Linked DNA regions of Homo sapiens: regions 1 and 3 are each linked to region 2. The links are contacts of gene promoters, found by promoter capture Hi-C in human tissues and cell types (Jung and others, 2019). All regions are on one chromosome and are shown on one strand. The core of a region is centred on a gene start or on the middle of the fragment in contact, and the rest is flanking DNA. Distances in the headings are between cores, read along the strand shown. Region 1 holds the start of EIF2B1 (eukaryotic translation initiation factor 2B subunit alpha). Region 2 overlaps MPHOSPH9 (M-phase phosphoprotein 9). Region 3 holds the start of CCDC62 (coiled-coil domain containing 62).

What was found. Contacts are between HindIII fragments. The study calls those that stand out against the background at their distance.
Region 1: the fragment with the promoter of EIF2B1 here is called in contact with a fragment that was not itself captured in region 2 in 1 of the 25 tissues and cell types used here (spleen).
Region 3: the fragment with the promoter of CCDC62 here is called in contact with a fragment that was not itself captured in region 2 in 1 of the 25 tissues and cell types used here (spleen).

The regions. Positions count from the first base shown.
Region 1 is chr12:123,632,034-123,635,485 of GRCh38, reverse strand. It overlaps EIF2B1 (eukaryotic translation initiation factor 2B subunit alpha), which reads left to right and starts at 1,800. Exons shown (of 9, transcript NM_001414.4): 1 at 1,800-1,941; 2 at 3,040-3,141. The coding sequence starts at 1,929. It overlaps GTF2H3 (general transcription factor IIH subunit 3), which reads right to left and starts at 1,657. Exons shown (of 13, transcript NM_001516.5): 1 at 1,614-1,657. The coding sequence starts at 1,626. RefSeq lists an enhancer at 1,584-1,773. The HindIII fragment of the contact is 12,225 bases long and covers 1-3,452 here.
Region 2 is chr12:123,171,668-123,175,082 of GRCh38, reverse strand. The region is part of intron 16 of MPHOSPH9 (M-phase phosphoprotein 9); the gene reads left to right. Among named protein-coding and RNA genes, the nearest start is that of PITPNM2, 22 kb to the right of the region's middle. RefSeq lists a silencer at 1,714-1,914. The HindIII fragment of the contact is 6,614 bases long and covers 1-3,415 here.
Region 3 is chr12:122,772,261-122,775,839 of GRCh38, reverse strand. CCDC62 (coiled-coil domain containing 62) reads right to left here and starts at 1,268. Exons shown (of 13, transcript NM_201435.5): 1 at 1,134-1,268. The coding sequence starts at 1,169. RefSeq lists silencers at 404-698, 1,221-1,430 and enhancers at 901-1,040, 428-1,121. The HindIII fragment of the contact is 10,219 bases long and covers 1-3,579 here.

The DNA.
Region 1 (3,452 bases), core at 551-3,050, 460 kb before region 2:
TTTTCCTGCCTCAGCCTCCTGAGTAGCTGGGATTATAGGTGTGCGCCACCTTGTCCGGTTAATTTTTTTGTATTTTGAGCAGAGACGGGGTTTCACCATGTTGGCCAGGCTGGTCTCGAACTCCCGACCTCAAGTGATCCACCCACCTTGGCCTTCCAAAATGCTGGGATTACAGGCGTGAGCCACTGTGCCCAGCCACTTTTTTTCTTTTTTAATAGAAAAACAAAACAAAAAAATGTGTAAATCACACAACAAAGCACCTAGGACAGAAGCACTTAATACAACTGTGTCTGCCAGACAGAAAAAGCGTTGCCTGTAAAGAAAGGTGTGCATCTATACACATGCAATGACCCTGTGAATTTCCTTCTTTAGTTCGCTACCTCATTTGTAGACAGGAGCAATGCCAGGCCTGCCTCCCTCACAGGGTTGTGGTATGGTTTCACATCAATTAAGAGAGGATGGACAATTATTACAGTTCCTGAAAGGACTCCCCTATCTCTATTCTTGCTCCCCACAGTCCATTTTCCACACAACAGCCACAGTGATCTTTTAAAATTGCAAACCAGATCATAACACTTTCTGGCTTAAAACTCTACAATGTCTTTGTATTGCACCTAAAAATAAAGGCCAACTTCTCTATCACGGCCAATAAGGCCCTGCATGACCTGAAACTGGCTGGTTCTCTGATCTCATCCCTCTAGCCTCCTTTTAAATCTTCAAGACATCTGACTCTGTATGTGGTAGTTTAATGTATGAATGAGTCTCCCCACCATCCTCTACCCGCAAGCTCTCCATTTCTCCCTTCTCAGTGTAACTTGGTGGCTCAATCTGCCACAGGGCCCATGCACTTAAAGTGCACTTCCCCCAGAACTTCACATAATCATTCAAGTCGGTTTCAATATCCTGCACTTTTCCTAGGCCCCTATCTAAAACAGCTCCTCCTCAATCCTAGTCACAATGTACTATTGTAACTAGGACCGTACTGTTACATCATCTTCATAGCTCTTTTCATCCTTTGAAAAATAATTTATTTTTTAATTTTTTATTGACGAGGTCATGCCCTGTCGGCCATGCTGGGTGCAGTACTGCCATAATAGCTCACTGAAGCCTCGAATTCCTGGGCTCAAGTGATTCTCCCGCCTCAGCCTCCCGCGTAGCTGGGACCACAGACACGCGCTACCACGCCCGGCTAATATTTCATTTTTTTTGTAGAGATGGGGTCTGGCTGTGTTGCCCAGGCAGGTCTCGAACTCCCGGCTTCAAGCGATTCTCCCTCCTCGGCCTCCCAAAGTGCTGGGATTACAGGCCTAATCCACCGGGGTGCGACCCGGCCGAAATTATTTTTATTTATTGTCATCTGTTTCACCCAGTAGACTGTAACCTCCACTAAGGCCCCTGTCTGTCACGATCTCTGCTAAAATCCAGAAAATAATGCCTGTACACAGGAGGCGATCCAAAACTATTTACTGAATGAATGACTGAATGCCTTGGCTACTCCTCTAAAGACCAAACGGATTCTATCCAGCCCAAAAGACACATTCCATCTGGCCAGTCGTAGCCGGACCGAGACAGCCGAGCCCCGGAGTCGAAGTCCCGCCCTGCAGGGTCCTCACCGTCTGAAACCATGGCTGTCCCAGCACCTCAGCGCAGAGCAAGTGGTGGTCAGGGGAGCGTCTCAAATCCTGCGCAGCCCAACGTCCGGCGCCGCCAAGTGACGCACGAGGTGCTGTGACTCGTGCCAGCCCCCTAATCTGCGGAAGTGGAGTGCGGGGAGTGCGCCGGAAGAGGGGTACGGAAGTGCGCCGGAAGTGGGGTGCGGAGGTGTGCAGCGCGCTGTCAGACTGGCTCGCAGGCGGCGCGGCCGGCGGACCCGTTCGAGACAGCGCGGGCGGCTCGGGTCCCCTGGGGCTCCGCAGCAGGAGGACGCCATGGACGACAAGGGTAAATCAAGACAGGCCAGGGCTGCTAGGCTACAGCAGCGCCGTTCAGGGGTCCCCCCAACCTCTCACATCCAGGCTGAGCTCCCGAAGAGATTTCTTTTGAATTTCAGGCTGCTCCGCTGGTTGTGTTTCCAGAGTCACAACTAAATCCCTCGCGCTGCTCTTGTTTTCAGGGATGCGCCCTGGCAGTATCTGCAGGCATCCCTCCCACACATACGCTCCTTCCCAGTGCCAGTCTCCTTCCTGCCTTGTTGGATCTGTCATTAAAATTAGAATGAATAAGGCATATTTGATGTGCTCATCTAGTATGGTTATTAAGTGAAAAACAAGGGCAAACTAATACACTTTTCATGTAAAGAAATAAAGGGGAGTGGGTGGAACTCCATGTATAATATTTGTAACATATATGTGTATGTGAATAGACATGTATTAGCATAGACTGTCTGGAGGGGTGCAGGAGAAATTGGCAAGATGGTTGACTCTGGGATCCTCTCAGATTTTAGGACCAAAGAGGCTGAAGAGAGAATGACTTTTCATCATCATTTACTCGGGCTTAATTTTTAGGCCTTGCACACCAGTAGCTTTTTTTTTTTTTTTTTTGAGACGGAGTCTCGCTCTGTCACCCAGGCTGGAGTGCAGTGGCGCAGTCTCGGCTCACTGCAAGCTCCGCCTCCCGGGTTCACGCCATTCTCCTGCCTCAGCCTCCCAAGTAGCTGGGACTACAGGCGCCCGCCACTACGCCCGGCTAATTTTTTGTATTTTTAGTAGAGACGGGGTTTCACCGTTTTAGCCGGGATGGTCTCGATCTCCTGACCTCGTGATCCGCCCGCCTCGGACTCCCAAAGTGCTGGGATTACAGGCGTGAGCCACCGCGCCCGGCCACCAGTAGCTTTTTCAAAATAAAAAAGAGCTCTTGCAAACAGCAAAGTGGTATTTTCTCTATTCCCATCAACATTTATTGCATCCCTGAAACCAAATACCCTAAAAAGAAAGTATTTTTTAAATTGTTTGCTTCTTAAAGTCAACAGTCATTAACAAGCTCTCTTGCCTTATAGGCTGCTAAATGAATTAGGTGAATCACTTTTTTCCCTTTTTCCAGAGTTAATTGAATACTTTAAGTCTCAGATGAAAGAAGATCCTGACATGGCCTCAGCAGTGGCTGCCATCCGGACGTTGCTGGAGTTCTTGAAGAGAGATAAAGGTATATAGAGAGTCATCTGTTAACACTCTGGGACTTAGGATAGTCTTTTTTTTCTTTTCTTTTTTTTTTTTTTTAAAGAGACGGAGCCTCACTCTGTCACCCAGGCTGGAGTGCAGTGGCGAGATCTTGGCTCACTGCAACCTCCGCCTCCTGGGTTCAAGCAATTCTCCTGCCTTGGCCTCCTGAGTAGCTGGGATTATAGGTGTGCACCACCTTGTCCGGCTAATTTTTTTGTATTTTAGAGACAGGGTTTCACCATGTTACCCAGGCTGGTCTCGAACTCCTGAGCTTAGGCAATCTGCCCGCTTTGG
Region 2 (3,415 bases), core at 55-2,554:
TTTTATTAATGTACCTGCCATGAGAAGATGGAGAAGGAAAGAATGGAAGCAGGAGACTAGTTAGTCTGGTGCAGTGCTAGGAGAGAGGTGGTGTTAGCTAGGTGGTGGTCACAGAAATAGACAATAGAGACTCTTCGGGAGAGATTCTAGAGGTAGGATCTATAGGATATGGTTGTGAATTGGATGGCAAGGTAAGAAAGGGAGGTGTTGGAATAATTCCTTGGTTTCTCTCTCAAACAACTAAAGGTACCTAGTTCATGTGTTGAACTTAGGGAAGAGATCAGAATTTCCATCTTGAATATTTTTGTTTGAGATTCATATCGATTCTAAGTGGAAATCAAATAGGCAATTATAAATGAGTTTGGAGCTCAAAAATAAGGTTTTAGGATGGTATGATAAATTTTGGAGTCATGCCGGGTGCGGTGGCTCACGCCTGTAATCCCAGCACTTTGGGAGGCCGAGATGGGCGGATCACGAGGTCAGGAGATCGAGACCATCCTGGCTAACATGGTGAAACCCCATCTCTACTAAAAATACAAAAAATTAGCCGGGTGTGGTGGCGGGCGCCTGTAGTCCCAGCTACTCAGGAGACTGAGGCAGGAGAATGGCGTGAACCCGGGAGGCGGAGCTTGCAGGGAGCCAAGATCGCGCCACTGCATTCCAGCCTGGGCAACTGAGCAAGACTCCGTCTCAAAAAAAAAAAAAAATTGGAGTCGTCTCTTTCTAGATGGTGCGTAAAGTTGTAGAATGGATGTAAACTGAGTGTGTTTAGTGAGAAGTAGGCCTGGGGCAAGAACTCTGACACTGGTGTTGGATAGAGAGAGCTGGCAAAGGAACCCGAGAAAGCGCTGCCAAAAAGCTAGAGGAAAACAAGCAGCCACCGGTATTGAGTGCAAAACCCAACTTGTGTTTCCCTGTGCTCTCACACCAGCACAACAAAAATAGACTCAGAAGACTTTTGTGACCCAGAATGTGTGACATTTCTCCTCACCAGCAAGCGAGCAATCAGTTCTTCATGGGACCTAGCTGGGTGGCCTCCCATTCATCTCTGATACTATCTACCCAGAGATAGGGTCAGATCCCATAAGCTGAGGGCTCAGTCCCCAAGACTTCCCATTTCAGACACCATTTGCAAGTCCAGGCCTCCAAAACGTCTAACCAACTGGCTTCAAGTTGAGGTTCCCACAGCCCTCTCTTTGGGTTTGATTAATTTGCCAGAGTGGCTTATAGAACTCAGAGAATCATGTTTACCAACTTATTACAGATGATATTTTAAAGGATACAAATAAACAACCAGTTGAAGAGATACAGAGTAAGGTCTGGAAGGATCTCCAGCACAGGAGTTTCTTTCCCAGTAGAGCTGGGGTGTGATGCCCCCTCAGTGCGTGGATGAGCTCTTGTTCAGCTCTCCAGAAGCTCTGGAGCCCTGTCCTTTTGGGCATTTTATGGAGGTTTCATTGGACAGGCCTGATTGAAGCTTGGACGACTGTGTTGAAATGTGATTGGACAGAAAGGATGTGATCTAAACCCAGCAAGGCCTTTCTGTTCAGATCCTTCTTGGCCTCTTTGTGCAGCATTCCTTCCCCCAGAGGATGAGGCAGGACCCTCTCTGATTCGAACAAGAGTCTTATGACCCATAATCAGATTAGAGTCCTACCCTGGTAAGGTAAAAGGAAGACAGGAGAAGGTTAGAGATTCTGTTGACTGCAACAAGGGATATGAAAGTTATGAGCCAGGAATTGTGAATGAAAACTGATGTATAATATATGTCATAATCTCACATTGCTGCTTGAGAGATCAAGGTGAAGACTGCAAGGTCTTTGCAAGCTGGAGGCTAATGCTTAGTGAACAGTCTGGATAGAGTGATAACAGTAGAAGCCCATTCAGAGGGTACTCGAGTGAATGCAGGCTGGGCGTGGTGGCTCACGCCTTTAATCCCAGCACTTTGGGAGGCCAAGGCAGGTGGATCACTTGAGGTCAGGAGTTTGAGACCAGCCTGGCCAACATGGCGAAACTCCATCTCTACTAAAAATACAAAAATAAGCCAGGCATAGTGGTGCAGGCCTGTAATCCCAGCTACTCGGGAGGCTGAGGAATCACTTCAACCTGGGAGGCGGAGGTTGCAGTGAGCCAAGATCGCACCACTGCACTCCAGCCTGGGTGACAGAGCACCGCTCTGTCTCAAAAAAAAAAAAAAAAAAAAAAAAAAAAGTGAATGAAAACCTGAAAGTCTAACAGCTGGAATATGGAAAATACTGTCATACACTCAAGCATGACACTGCATCATGACAATGCAGGTGGCAGAGACCGAGTTGGCAGACCCCAGCCTGTGGGGCCACATGTGGCATGAACTACCTGTTTTTGTGAGGCCCCTGAGTAAAGAATGGTTTCTACATTCTTACATGTTTGGGAAAAAAGAATATTTCATGACACATGAAAATTGTATGACGGACTGGGCGTGGTGGCCCACACCTGTAATCCCAGCACTTTGGGAGGCCAAGGCAGGTGGATCACCTGAGGTCAGGAGTTCGAGACCAGCCTGGCCAACATGGCAAAACCCCATCTCTATTAAAAATACAAAAATTAGCTGGGTATGGTGGCATGTGCCTGTAGTCCCAGTTACTCAGGAGGCTGAGGCAGGAGAATCGCTTGAACCTGGAAGGCGGAGGTTCCAGTGAGCCAAGATTACACCACTGCATTCCAGCCTGGGTGAGAAAGTGAGACTCTGTCTCAAAAAAAAAAAAAGAAAGAAAATTGTATAACATTCAAATTTTAGTGTCCACAAATACAATTTTCATGGAATACAAGCTTATTCACTTACATAGCATCTACGGCAGCTTTTGTGCAACAGCAAAGTGGAGTAGTTGCAACAGACACTGGCCCATAAAACCTCAAGTGTTTACTCTCTGGCCCTTTACAGAGAGAATTTGCTGATCCTCAGCTAGACGGTCAACGTGGATTAATCTTAAGGACATAATATGGAACAACAAAAAACTAGTTGCAGAAGAAATAGGATACTATTTATATTGACTTTAGCATGTGAAGCAATTTTGTATTTCTTATGGGTTCATGCAAACATAGTAAACGTATGAAAACGTGCATGGGAATGCTGAACACAAATTTAGTATAAATGGTTGCTTTTGGGAGGGAACGAATGAGATTGGAGAGGTGCACAGGGGCTTTAGTTGTCTTTATAGTGTTCTACTCTTAATTTAAAGAATATATAACCAAGATTTATAAAGCTGGATGGTTGGCATGAATATTACCTGTATGTCTATGTGTGCTTGAGATATATATATAATATATGTTTTTTGTTTGTTTGTTTGTTTGTTTTGAGATGGAGTCTCGCTGTGTCACCCAGGCTGGAGTGCAGTGGCACAATCTCGGCTCACTGTAACCTCTGCTTCCCATGTTC
Region 3 (3,579 bases), core at 19-2,518, 400 kb after region 2:
GGAGTTCGAGACCAGCCTGGCCAACATGGCGAAACCCTGTCTCTACTAAAAACACAAAAATTAGCTCGGCATGGTGGTGGGAGCCTGTAGTCCCAGCTATTTGGGAGGCTGAGGCGGGAGGATTGCTTGAACTCGGGAAGCAGAGGCTGCAGTAAGCCGACATTGCGTCACTGTACTCCAGCCCTGGGGACAGAGCCAGACCCTGTCTCAAAAATAAATAAATAAGAATGATGAATAAATTACAGTTGCTAGTCTTAACAAGGAAAATGGAATTTGGAGTCAAGGGATTTCAAGTCCCAAGGCTTGAATTCCAGTGTTGGGTTAGCCCTTCATTCATGCACTCAACAAATAATTTATTGAGCGCCAGTGGCTGGGCCACAGACCTCCAGGCAAGGAGCACATATTCCACTCCAGGAAAACAGGCAGTAAGCCGAGTACACAAAGGCAGGTCGTCTTACACTGATGGACGCGAACCTTGGGCAAGCCCACTTCCAGACTTTTTGGTACAGTGGAGTTGTGAGAGCTCCTTCCTCTACTCGCCAGGTTGTGTAAATTAAGGACACCCTGAGAGGTAAATGGGAAAGCAGCTCCCCAGACGCCAATCGTCCTCCTTAAACAGTAAGCACCGGGTACGCGCTACTCTGTGGCCCGGGCTGAATAACAAGGTGTTATTGGGTTAAGGAAACGGTCGTGACGCCGTTTTCCTCTAGTGTATTGTTTCACTTTTTTTTTTTTTTTTTTTTTTTGAGACGGAGTCTCGCTCTGTCGCCCAGGCTGGAGTGCAGTGGCGCGATCTCGGCTCACTGCAAGCTCTGCCTCCCGGGTTCACGCCATTCTCCTGCCTCAGCCTCCCGAGTAGCTGGGATTACAGGCGCCCGCCGCCACGCCCGGCTAATTTTTTTTTTTTTATTTTTAGTAGAGACGGGGTTTCACTGTGTTAGCCAGGATGGTCTCGATCTCCTGACCTCGTGATCCGCCCGCCTCCGCCTCCCAAAGCGCTGGGATTACAGGCGTGAGCCACCGCGCCCGGCCTGTTTCACATTTTAAGTAGACACCGTTCTTGAGAAGCAATAGATTTCGACCAATGTGCACCGTTCCCGCGGCGCCCCGCCGCGCCCGGAACCGCTGCTTACCTGGCGCCCGGCAAGGAAGGCTGCCGGAGGGTTCATAGGTGTTTCCTCCGCCCCCGGAGAAGCCCGGTGTGGGCGGCGTCACCTCAGAAACGCCATCGGCGCGCCTGCCCCGAGCGGCGGGGGCGAGCCCGGAGCCCCGGGGCCCCGCGCCCTCGGCCGACCCCCGCCCCGTACTCCAACCGCCTGCCTGGTGCCCACGCGGCGTGCGCCCGCCGGGGCTCGGGGCTCCCCGCCAGGGTTTCCGGGCCGCAGCCCCGCTGCGCTGGTGGGCACTGTTCTTCTGCCTCGGAAACTGGGGGCTCCCAAGTGGCTCAGGCTGCGTATGGACGCTTTTTGCCCACGCCCGAGGCTCCGGCGCTGGAAGGCCTGAAAGAACCGGCTGTTCACCACTACCCAGAGAATGAAGAAGTCAATAAAGGCTGCTGCGCCGCCCCCAGCACTCTGGTTTATGACATTTGAGTTGCTCACTTCCCTATCTTCCATCTTCCCCCTAATAACCGTGAGCTCGGCCGTGCTCGCTCCTGTGTAGCTGGCTCCCAGAACAGGACCTGACACTCGAATGCGTGGAGGCAGAGCCCAGCCCTCGGGGATAACAGTTGCGGGCTACCCTAGCACCTTTGATACTTTAAACCAAGAATCACAGATGAAGAGGGGGAAATTTACTCTTGGGAGCTCCTGAAAAGCAATGAGGAGAACCACGGTACTTTGTCATGACAAAATCTACGATATTCTGGGTTGAATCTAAGCTTTTTCACCTGTTCTTCCATAGTCACCTCTTCATCCCCCTTTCACTCTTCCTAAGATGTGGGAACGGGACTAGGAAAAAATAAGGCTTATCACACTTCAGCCCCGGCTGCCCATCCCTGAATGCTTAACCCATCAGACAGCAACACAATTACTAAATACGGTCGGTCTTACAGGGTTTCAACTTTACTTTTTGGTTGAATATGAAATGCCAAAACATGCCCTTGTGTTCAAAAAATACAATCTGAAAATGGAAAAACAAAATTAAGATTTCTTATTTTGAAGCTTTACTGATAGGCTCATGTTTGGGAGACCAAAGCAATGTCTTAGAATTTAAAATCAAGAAAGCTGGGCGCAGTGGCCTGTAACCCCAGCACTTTGGGAGGCCAATGTAGGAGGATCTGTTGCGTTCAGGAGTTTGAGACCAGCCTGAGCAACATGGTGACACCCACCTCTAAAAAACTTTTTTTTTTTTTTTTTTTGAGATGGAGTCTGGCTCTTGTTGCCTGAGCTGGAGTGCAATGGCACAATCTCGGCTCACTGCAAACTCTGCCTCTGGCCTCAAGCAAATCTCCTGCCTCAGCCTCCCGAGTAGCTGGGATTACAGGTGCCCGCCACCACGCCACCTTTGTTGTATTTTTAGTAGAGATGGGTTTCACTACCTTGGCCAGGCTGGTCGCGAACTCCTGACCTCAGTTGACCCACCCACTTCAGCCTCCCAAAGTGCTGGGATTACAGGTGTGAGCTACCGCACCTGGCCAAAAAATAAATTTTTTTTTAAACTGGGCGTGGTGGTGCACTCCTGTGGTCTCAGCTACTCACGAGGCTGACTTGAGCTGGGAGATGGCGGCTCCAATGAGCTGTGATCATGCCACTGCATTCCAGTCCGATCGAGAGTGAGACCTTGACTCAAAAAAACAAAAATCAGGCCAGACGTGGTGGCTCACGCCTGTAATCCCAGCACTTTGAGAGGCCGAGGAGGATGGATCATGAGATTAGAAGTTTGAGACCAGCCTAGCCAATACAACGAAACCCTGTCTCTACTAAAAATCAAACAAACAAACAAACAAACAAAAACTAGCCACGTGTGGTGGTGCGCACCCATAGTCCCAGCTACTCGGAAGGCTGAGGCAGGAGAATCGCTTGAATGCAGGAGATGGAGGTTACAGTGAGCCAAGACTGCGCCACCTCACTCCAGCCTAGGCAATAGAGGGACACTCCGTATCAAAAAAAAAAAAAAACAAAAAAACACCAACCACCACTACCACCAAAACCCAAAACCAAATAGCCAATAAATACAAAAAGGTGGTCTACTTCCCTGATCATTACAGAAATGCAAAAAAATAAAAATAAATAAATAAATCAACAAAGCAAATTCTGGGTGGGTATTTGCTAAAAACAGTCTAGCAGTAGATGACTGCAGTAAGTTGGTGGTGATGAGATGTAAAGGAATGTGGGTTGAATGTCAATTTTTGAAGTGAGGAGTGTTTTAATTCACGTTTCTTAGGTTTCACCATTGTTAAGACTTGATATTTTTCTAGAAAGTCCTCGAGTGCCATTGTTCACCAGGCAACCATGTGTGACACTCAAGTAAAAATACATGTACAGGCTGGGTGTGGTGGTTCACACCTGTAATCCCAGCACTTTGGGAGGCTGAGGTGGGAGGATAGCTTGAGCTCAGGAGTTTGAGACCAGCCTGGAC